4 separate regions of the Homo sapiens genome follow, and regions 2, 3 and 4 are each linked to region 1. The links are contacts of gene promoters, found by promoter capture Hi-C in blood cells and fetal thymus (Javierre and others, 2016). All regions are on one chromosome and are shown on one strand. The core of a region is centred on a gene start or on the middle of the fragment in contact, and the rest is flanking DNA. Distances in the headings are between cores, read along the strand shown.

Evidence for each region. Contacts are between HindIII fragments. The CHiCAGO score rates a contact against its expected background, and 5 or more counts as called.
Region 2: a contact is called between a fragment that was not itself captured here and the fragment with the promoter of DNAJC25 in region 1, in 2 of 17 cell types (monocytes and total B cells). The highest score is 8.0, in monocytes.
Region 3: a contact is called between a fragment that was not itself captured here and the fragment with the promoter of DNAJC25 in region 1, in 3 of 17 cell types (fetal thymus, total CD4 T cells and non-activated CD4 T cells). The highest score is 5.6, in fetal thymus.
Region 4: a fragment that was not itself captured here is called in contact with the fragment with the promoter of DNAJC25 in region 1 in 1 of 17 cell types (naive CD4 T cells); the score reaches 5.6 in naive CD4 T cells.

What each region holds. Positions count from the first base shown.
Region 1 is chr9:111,630,071-111,632,610 of GRCh38, forward strand. It overlaps DNAJC25 (DnaJ heat shock protein family (Hsp40) member C25), which reads left to right and starts at 1,264. Exons shown (of 4, transcript NM_001015882.3): 1 at 1,264-1,673. The coding sequence starts at 1,338. DNAJC25-GNG10 (DNAJC25-GNG10 readthrough) reads left to right here and starts at 1,264. Exons shown (of 3, transcript NM_004125.4): 1 at 1,264-1,673. The coding sequence starts at 1,338. LOC107987116 (a long non-coding RNA gene) reads right to left here and starts at 1,133. Exons shown (of 2, transcript XR_001746897.2): 1 at 970-1,133. RefSeq lists enhancers at 1,128-1,217, 1,948-1,997 and a silencer at 1,308-1,597. The HindIII fragment of the contact is 9,325 bases long and covers 1-2,540 here.
Region 2 is chr9:113,343,155-113,345,694 of GRCh38, forward strand. No RefSeq gene overlaps it. Among named protein-coding and RNA genes, the nearest start is that of WDR31, 4.2 kb to the left of the region's middle. The HindIII fragment of the contact is 4,375 bases long and covers 1-2,540 here.
Region 3 is chr9:112,747,180-112,749,719 of GRCh38, forward strand. SNX30-DT (SNX30 divergent transcript) reads right to left here. Exons shown (of 1, transcript NR_186503.1): 1 at 1,705-2,540. Among named protein-coding and RNA genes, the nearest start is that of SNX30-DT, 2.1 kb to the right of the region's middle. The HindIII fragment of the contact is 1,522 bases long and covers 519-2,040 here.
Region 4 is chr9:112,730,489-112,733,028 of GRCh38, forward strand. No RefSeq gene overlaps it. Among named protein-coding and RNA genes, the nearest start is that of INIP, 14 kb to the left of the region's middle. The HindIII fragment of the contact is 1,531 bases long and covers 496-2,026 here.

The DNA of each region.
Region 1 (2,540 bases), core at 14-2,513:
CTGAGGTGAAAAATAGACACATATATGTTATATATGTAATGACAGAGACATATATGTGTAATGAGATTATATATATTATATATGTAATGAGGGAGATATATGTAATGAGAGATATATATTTATTCAATGAGAAATACAAAATTATAATGTATATTCATTATGTATTATAAGTATATAATGCTATGTATCAGTATTTGATTTCACTTTATTAAAAGAGTTGATTATATCTGAACGTTTATTTATTTGTTACTGACTGTCATCCTCCATCAGAATATATGCTCTCTGAAGTTGAGCTTCTTGTTTACTTTGCTCACCACTGTATCCCCAGTGCCTAAGTAACAGTGCCCGGCTCAGAGTAGAGACTCAATAAACATTTACCAGATGAATGATAGAAACAGATTTTTTGAGGCAAAGTTTTTCATGTTGCCATATAGTCCCATGCAATATTTTGGACATACTTATACTAAAAAATTATTATCTGAAATTCAAATGTAGGCCGGGCACGGTGGCTCACGCCTGTAATCCTAGCATTTTGGAAGGATCGCTTGATCCTTCCAGCAGGTTGTCCCGGGAACGCGCAGCCCAAGGTGGACGCACAGACCCGCGTACAGAGATTTTTTATTGTCATGACTGGGGGTGGTGGCACTACTGGCATTTAGTGTGGAGAGGCCAGATATGCTGCTAAACATCTTACAATGCAAAGGGCAGCCCCTCAAAGGCAAAGAATTATCTGGTCTAAAATGTCAATAGCGTGGAGGCTGAGAAAAACTGAACTAGATGGCTATGAACTTTCAGGGTCCCTACCTAGTACACAGGCAGCGCCTAGAATTGCTAAGTTCATCTTCCGTTTGGAAAGGCAGCATGGGGTTAGTGAGAGGAAGGCGCCCGGGGCTGGTGGCTGGCTTTAAAGGCCTACGTGCAAATCTTCTTGACGCTGATAACGGGATGCGAGAGAGCCAGGTAGGTTACCTATTGCAGCAGGTCAAGTGATGATGTCGAAAAGGATGCGTGTGCCGGACACTGTGGAAGGTAAAGCGCTCCGCACAGCCCGCCTAAGTGCGCCCGGGACAGAGCCATCCCCCAGGTGCTACCAAACAAATCCTCCAGCTGCTGGTACGGGGAAGGTGTTCAGTGACACACCGGAAGCAGCCTAGTGGCTGAGGCGTCCTTCTCCCTACCAACGGGTTGCGAAGGAAGTAGTTGCTGTAGCCGCGCCCTGTGCGCCTGCGCGGAGGCGTCGGCTGCTGACGTGTAGCTGGGGCCAGACGGGACTAGCCGGGCGCGCGGCTGAGTGCTGCAGAATCGCTGGGGTGGCAGAGCCGCCAGCGAGGCTGGGGATGGGGGCGCCGCTGCTCTCTCCCGGCTGGGGAGCCGGGGCTGCCGGCCGGCGCTGGTGGATGCTGCTGGCGCCCCTGCTGCCGGCGCTGCTGCTGGTGCGGCCCGCGGGGGCCCTGGTGGAGGGGCTCTACTGCGGCACGCGGGACTGCTACGAGGTGCTGGGCGTGAGCCGCTCGGCGGGCAAGGCGGAGATCGCGCGGGCCTACCGCCAGCTGGCCCGGCGCTACCACCCTGACCGCTACCGGCCCCAGCCCGGAGACGAGGGCCCCGGGCGGACGCCGCAGAGCGCCGAGGAGGCTTTCCTGCTGGTGGCAACCGCCTACGAGACACTCAAGGTGAGGCCTGCGGGCGTGGAGGGGCTTCGAAGACTGGCCGCGGGAAGCCCACGGCGCCTTCCGACCCCGGTCCGCGGAGCGTGGGCCTCTGTGACCCCGAAACTGAGCACAGCCACCACCGCGACCTTTAAGATACTCACGTTTCCCACGTGGCCCTGTGAAAGAGCCGAGTCGGCCCCACGGGGCCTTGGGGGGCACAGCTAGCCTCCTTGCCCTCTTCCTTTTTGTGACATTGTTATGCAAAACTTTGGCCATCTTACGATTTCGTGAAAATATTTTAATAACGTGCATTTCACATTCGAAAAGCAGGGTGATCATTATTAGTAGGATCTGGGGTAGCCCACAACAGGGAAAGTCTCGAATATCAAGTGACAACTGTGATCGCATCAGTTTGATATGACAGAAAATTGGTTTCTGGAAATAGTGTTAATGGTGACGCTTAGTTTGGGTTTAAGGAACTAAGAAAACACTGAGAAGAACAATGAACACCAGTCAAAAGGCTGGATGTGAGTCTTTGCTGTGACACCCCTGTATGACCTTGGATAGTGACTTATTATGTTGAAATAGCTGTTTCTTCATATGCAAAATTAAGGCCATGATACCTCCTCTCAGAGTTATTATGGGGATTAAATGATAAGTGTGCGAACCGCCCCCCTTTCCATAGGATCCATAAATAGGTGCTTAATGACTTGGGTACAAAACTCTGAGAATTTCTAGTAGGAAATATTTTGTGAATATGTATTTGTATTTCATTTGACAGGTTTTATTGAGTCTTGTGGGGATGAGAGATTTAGCCCGATGCTGTTTTCTTCTACTACTGCAAAAAATCAAACCATCTAGGACATCACGAAGTATAAATCGTACTTG
Region 2 (2,540 bases), core at 21-2,520, 1.7 Mb after region 1:
CTAGCACAGAGTAGATGGCCATTGAATATTTTTGAACAAAGATTACAAGGGAAAGACAGTCATGACAGACCGTTAGGACATGATAGAATGCTATGGGTATAAGCAACATAATTTCATATCGACCTCTCCTGGCTCCTCACTTCACATCCCCTCAACTTTACACTACCAGTGCCTTTGTCTTAGTCCATTTTGTGCTGCTGTAACAGAATACTACAGACTGGGTAATTTATTATGAACAGAAATGTATTTGGCTCATGGTTCTGGAGACTGGGAAGTCCAAGATCGAGAGGCTGCATCTGGTGAGAGCCTTCTTGCTGCATTATGACATGGTGGAAGACATCACATGGTGAGAATGCAGGAGTAGTGAGGGAAGGGGACAAACCTATCCTTCTATCAGGAACCCACTCCCACAATAACATCATTAATCCATGCACGAGATCAGAGCCCTCATGATCTAATCACCTCTTAAAGGTCCCATCTCTCAACACTGTTACAAGGGGAATTCAGTTTCCAGCACATGAACTTTGGGGGACATGTTCAAACCACGGCAGCCTGTGGCTCTGCCTTATTTAAATATAATCCTAGTTTTTGGCTCTTTATGGCCTGAGTTGGTTGTTCTCTCCTGGACTTGCCCAGATTGATAACACCCCTTCTGTGACATGGGCTGGTCTGAAGAGCCCTCTGGAGAAGAGAGCTGTTCTCATCTAGTTTAGTCTGGCCTGAGCAGAGAGCACTCTGTCATTGGGAGGCTTGGACTTCATCATAGAGGACCCATGTGATCTGAATTTGTCTGCATGGCAGGCTGCCAAATCCCTCTTAAAAGTGACAGTTAAAGCTGGCTGTACTGTGAAAACACCCCAGGAGGAAAAGAAGCCACAGTATTGGTAGTCTTATTGCTGTTCCTGGAAACCATGCAAACCCCAGTCAGATGACTTCCAGCCCTGGCACCAGAGATATTGGATCAGTGTCTGAGAAGGAAGGAGGAATGGACACAGGCCCAGGCAGAAGGGGGCTGGGCTGGGCCAGGCCAGGGCCCCACCAGGCAGGCAGAAAAGGCTGGGCCTGACACCGAGGAGCAGGCCTGAGGGAAAGTAAAGGCTAGGGAAGAATAGTCCTTTCCAAAAGACTTTCCAAAATGTTCATTAAAATAAAAAGTTTAGGCCAGGCCTGGTGGCTCACACCTGTAATCTCAACAATTTGGGAGGTTAAGGTGGGAGGATCACTTGAGGCCAGGAATTTGAGACCGGTCTGGGCAACATAAAAAGACTCAGGTCTCTACAGAAGTTTTTTTTGTTTTATTTTTATTTTTATTTTTTTTTGAGACGGAGTCTCGCTCTATCGCCCAGGCTGGAGTGCAGTGGTGCAATCTCGTCTCACTGCAAGCTCTGCCTCCCGGATTGATGCCATTCTCCTGCCTCAGACTCCCGAGTAGCTGGGACTACAGGCATCTGCCACCACACCCAGCTAATTTCTTTCTTTTTTTTGTATTTTTAGTAGAGACAGAGTTTCACTGTGTTAGCCAGGGTGGTCTCGATCTCCTGACCTTGCGATCCACCCACCTCGACCTCCCAAAGTGCTGGGATTACAGGTGTGAGCCACCACACCTGGCCCAGAAGTTATTTTTTTTTTAAAGTTTTTTAAAAAAGATCCAAGCCAAATGTTATAAATGAGCAAGTGAAAGGGCAGGTTAGAGAGCAGGTTGTACACATAATCCCAATTTTGTAAAATAAATATGTTCCAGCTTGTATCATATAGTGGGAGCTAATGAATGCTTTAACCTATGTGTGAGGACCTGTAAGTATATTTGTAGCAGTTTTTCACACATTGTAAATCGTGTGAGGTTCTTTGAAGATTGGGGAGCAGAGTTCATGGTACAGAAAGACATCTTGCACTTGCTAGTCCTCTGTCTGGAAATCTCCTCCCCAGATGTTTTCATGCCTTGCTTCTTCCAGTGCCACTTACCTGAGAGGACTTCTACACCATCCTTTCTACACCAGCACCTCCATCATGCTCTTTTTCTTGTAATACTTGAATCTTTTTCATAGCCCTTATCATTACTGACATTATATTACATATCCATTTGTTGCATTTTATTTGTGCATGAAAGTAGACTTTGTTCTTCTTGACTGTTGTATCCCCAGTGTCTAAGGCCTGGCACATTGGCAGGGGCTCAATAAATCTGTTGAATGACTAAAATGTAACAATGGTGTCCATTCTTCTCTCCCTAGCTCAGAGTGCCTGAAGTTCAAGTACAGCCCTGCCTATGCCCATGAAGCCTCCAGAGGTCCCCTAAGAGCTCTAAGCAGCTTTCAAATTTTTTTGACCTCATAAAGAAGTACATTCATTCTCCACGGTGCATATGTACGTATATATAGGCCAAAGACAAAATTACAACAAATGTAGTTGAGTGATCTTATTGGCTTTTATTAGCACTTCTAGAATCAGGCAACACCTAATTCTATAAAACAGAATGTTCCAATGAGCTGAACAGAGGACATGGGCTTTATAGGTAGAAAAGAGCTGGAAAAAAAAAGAGGATT
Region 3 (2,540 bases), core at 30-2,529, 1.1 Mb after region 1:
CCTTGTTTGATACAGCCCTCTGTGGCTTGCGACATGTCATCCTGAATGCTCTCTGAAAACGTCCTTTGTCCTCACCAGCCGTCCACTTCAGAAGTGGTGGTGTTATTCTGAGGCAGGGCTTGGGATGCCATATAGAATAAAGCTATGATTGTACTAAAAACCACCAGAGGATAAGCGGCTAACACAAACATGAAGAAGGCCTAAGCACATGCTGTACCAGGGGAAAGAATGAGCGAATGATGCATTGAGACTGCTTTGTTTCTGAGGTCTGGGTGCTCACAGGCAGCCCCAATACGCTTGCTAGTGAGGTCGATAGGATTTGTTTGGTAAGCGTACTAAATTCTGGGGCCCAAAGCCCTGTCTCCTGAAAGGTGCCAGCCTAAGTGTCTAAGATTCCTTATGAATTGGGAGGGCTCCATGCTGTGTTCTTGGGTTCTGGTGGCATTGGGGACCTCCCTCGCCCCTCATGCACACACATACATCTACTATCTTCCTCAGAGCTCAACCCTAGAAATCCAAGCTTCCCTCCATAAGTTCCAACAAACACCACAGCCTTCTGCTCTGATGGAGAAACGTTACACGTTTCCTCCTTACCACCATGCTGCTTTTAAAACTTTTAGTAGCCTGTAATCCCAGCACTTTGGGAGGCCAAGGCAGGCAGATCACTTGAGGTCATGAGTTTGAGACCAGCCTGGACAACATGGTGAAACCCTGTCTCTACTAAAAATACAAAAATTAGCCGGGCATGGTGGCACACACCTGTAATCCCAGCTACTGTGGAGGCTGAGGCAGGAGAATCGCTTGAACCTGGGAGGCGGAGGTTGCAGTGAGCTGAGATTGCGCCACTGCACTCCAGCCTGGGCGACAGAGCAAGGCCCTGTCTCCAAGAAAAAAAAAAAAAAAAAACAAAACCTTTTAGTAGAAGCAAAGTCACATGCTCTGGGACACTTATATTATTTCAGTGACAATTTCCCACCACAAGGAACACTGAAATACCACAGGAAATGGTGAATATGAATGGGCAGGGCTGGGCTAAATTTCATCGTGGAAACTTTCTACCAAAATACTTTCCATACAAATTCACTTTCTTTAGTTTTGATGACTACCCACTGGATATTGTGGCCAGCTGCTATCGACCAACCAGGAAACTGGAAAATAAATAAATAAACTGTAATCAACTATTTCATATGGCCTTTTAGGAACTCTGGGTCTGGGTCCTTTTTTTGGTGGGAGCATAGAAAAGTGGTACTCCAATCTAAACTGAGCAAATGGAGGACTTTGGAGGTCAATACACACACACACACACACACACACATATACACACATATATATGTACACACACATATATATGTATATATATATATATTTTTTTTTATTTTGAGACAAGGTCTCCTTCTGTTGCCCAGGCTGAAGTACAGTGGTGCAATCTCAGCTCATTGCACCCTCAACCTCCCAGGCTCAAGCAATCCTTCCACCTCAGCCTCTTGGGTAGCTGGGACTACAGGTATGTGCCACCATGCCGGACTAATTTTTACATTTTTTATAGAGATGGGGCTCTCACTATGTTGCCCAAGCTGGTCTTGAACTTATGGGCTCAAGTGATCCTCCCACCTTGGCCTCCCAAAGTGCTGGGATTACAGGTGTGAGGCACCCTACCTGGTGTGTATGTGTGTGTATATATATGTATATTCAACCAGACCCTACTCAGAATAGTAAAGCATATTTAATTACAAAAACTCTTTATTATTTCATAAGAATAGTAGAGAAAATCTGACAGAAAGGGAAAGGAAGGTAGGTAATTAACATTTAGGGAGCACCTATTTTATGCCAGCACTTTGCTAGGACTATGACATAAAGAATGCTATATAACTCTCACAACCATCTCATAAGGTATTATTACCTGCTCTCCATTCTCCTCCTTTTTAGGTTAGGAACAGGTTCACTGAGGTTAGTAACTTGCTCATGGTCACCCACTTGTAGTGACAAAGCCGAATTCAAATGTGGTTCTTTTTTCACTTTCCCCTGGTGTACTAAAGAGAAAGCTTGTATAGAGTCTTAATCCATACGGATGTCCATTATATTTAAGGCAGCCTGGTTGTTAAAATAAGTAGCACCATTCAATAAGAAAAACCGATGTTATACATCTATAGATGTATATACTCATTTCTAGAAATACTCATTTCTAGTTATATTGTGCTATTCATTTTCATGCTAATTCAGAAGAACAGATAATAGGGTCTGTAGTAGTTGTAAGCAGCCCTTGAATGTGAAAGTGTTAACAATTTTAATCCAACTCCAAGAGGACCAGAACTTGGCATTCCTTAGATGCAGCATTTAAAATTGTTCCCAGTGCCCTTTGAATGCTACTTTTCCCAGCCAAGGCAGGCTTATGTGGAGGAGATAAAGATGATAGCTTGAGGACTAAGGGTCCAACCCTATATAAATTACATTGGGGGAAATAGGGGAAGGTCTTTGAAGCTCAGAGTCTCTGACTGATATTTTGGGTAGATTTCAACCCTCTGCATTCTCTTCTATTTGTT
Region 4 (2,540 bases), core at 11-2,510, 1.1 Mb after region 1:
CTCTTGGTACATGTGGGAGATTGATTCAAGGAGCCTCTCGTATACCAAAATCCGAGTATATTCAAGTCTGTTAGTCAGCCCTGAAGAACTCACGTATAGAAGTCAGCCCTCTGTATATACACGCGGGTTTTGCATACTATGAACACTGTAGCATCAATCTGCAGTTGGTTGTAAAACAATCCCTGTATAAGTGGACTTACATGGTTCAAGCCCATGATGTTCAAGGGTCAACCGTATATCCTTTTGCAATTTGCTTTCTTATTAAGGGCTTTCTACGTGCAAGGCACCATGTTGGGCAGTGTGGATGAAAAGACAAGTTAGATAACATTTTGCATTGACATTAGCTAATATTGCCTCTTAGAAGAGCTTAAAATGCAGTATTTTACAGGTATTTTCCCTTTATTTTTAAATTTTAAAAAAATCTTTAGTTTTGTATTGGGCAGCCCCTGAATCAGAATAGGTTCAGAGAGGCCCCCTCACCATTGTTGGAAAGGAAGCTTCCTGCTCAGTATCTACCTTCTAATACTTAAATGTGGGACTGTAGCTCTGAATTAATAACATGCTTGTCTCTCTTGCTGCCACTTATGTAGCTTCTTTTTAGTATGTAGTTCTCCTAGAACATTTTAAAAGAAATCATCTATTTTGATAAATTTTTTTATTTTATCTTTAATTTTTTTGGGACAGGGTCTCGCTGTGTCACCTAGTCTGGAATGCAGTGGTGCAATCTTGGCTCTCTGCAGCCTCCGCCTTCTGGGTTCAAGCGATTCTTCTGCTTCAGCCTCCCTAGTAGCTGGGATTACAGGTATGCAACACCACGTCCAGCTAGTTTTTGTATTTGTTAGTAGAGATGGAATTTCACCATGTTGGCCAAGCTGGTCTTGAACTCTCAACCTCAGGTGATCTGCCTGCCTCAGCCTCCCAAAGGGCTGGGATTACAGGCGTGAGCCACCATGCCCGGCTTTATTTTGAGAAATCTTTTAGTAATTGGCAACAGAAATGATAAGTTTTGATCATCCATTTCTAACAGTTGTCAGTCAACACTAGTCCTGTGTCTGCATATGAAGATTATTCACCTTTATAAGATTTCCAAAATAAATATGATGATGTTTCTCAAAATTAAGAATTGTTTGGAATTTAGGTTTACAACTTAAACACAACCAAACCCACAAAACAGACACATTCTAGCTAATACATTTTATGTGACAATTGATGTTTTGGCAAATGCAATCGCTATTCACAGTGTAAAGAGGATGCCCTTAGCGACGGCATGCATTTCTTTGGGTTTGCTTGCCTATATCACTGCATGCCCCATGGTACCTCAGTTCTCCCACCAGATTCCTCTATTCAAAAGATTATAAACTCTTCATTTATATAGCACAGTATGAAGTCATTTGGGCTTCATTAGGCTCAGTATTGCCCATAGACCTAAGCAAACAGGAGGGACTCTTGCCGCCACATTTTAGAGGATCCAGTACACACACGCGAGCACATAAATTTGTTAAAGGACAGATGAGAACTTCTGTGCTTGGGATCTGGCATTTGGCTCTGGCACAGAACAACCTGGAACTTTGAACGTCTGCTTCTGTGACTAACACCATTTATACCCTGTGGAAACACCTCTTGCCCTGTGTTCTTGAAAGAAAGGCGGCTGGGTTGGACTGCTGTGAAGGTTTACGAGTTATGCCTCTGTCGAGGTCAGAAATGGACAGTGCATTTTAGTGCCGGGAATTGTTGAGCAGCAGAACTTAGGTAAGAGAAAAGGCAAATTATTAACTTCCAAATACCTCCTCTCAGATCAGAGGAATTCAGTGGAATTGTGCACAACCGAGAATTGTTTCCCTTTAGTGAGAGTCCATTTTCCTGTTTTCCTTATTCTCATTTGTGATTCTGGAGCTCGTCAGAATTAGTTCACTATTCACAACAGTTGCACTGTTGGCTAAGGAACTATTTCTGCAATATTAAATATTTGATAATTCCTGTTATATTTGTGTGTATATATATATAGGTTTATAAGTAACATAAGTGAAGCTTGATACTGATTCTCTAGTAACAAATATATTGTATTAAGATAATACAATTTGCAATACATATAATTTATGACAAAGTTAAAAATATCCTACTATTCTGTGATAATTGATCTTATGTATTATGGACTGAATGTGTATGGGATCTTTGGGGTGTCAATTTTCTGGCCAGAAACCTCTGTGGTCACAGCACCTTTGCCCGAGTTCTTGTCCTGTGTCCAGGTAGAAGAAGGTACACAGACAAGTGAAAGGTGAACAAGACAAAGAGCTTTATTTAGTGTTACAACAGCTTGGAGGAGACCCAGAGTGGGCAGCTCCTCTCTGTAGGCAGGTCATGTGTCCAGTGTTCAGTTCTCAGTAGAGAGGAGGCCCTGGAGAGGGTGGCTCCCCTCTGCAGACAGGTTGTCTCTGCAGCTCTCAGTGGAGAAGGTAGCTTCTCATGCCTGTAATCCCAGCACTTTGGGAGGCCGAGGTGGGTGGATCAGCTAAGGTCAGGAGTTCGAGACCAGCCTGGCC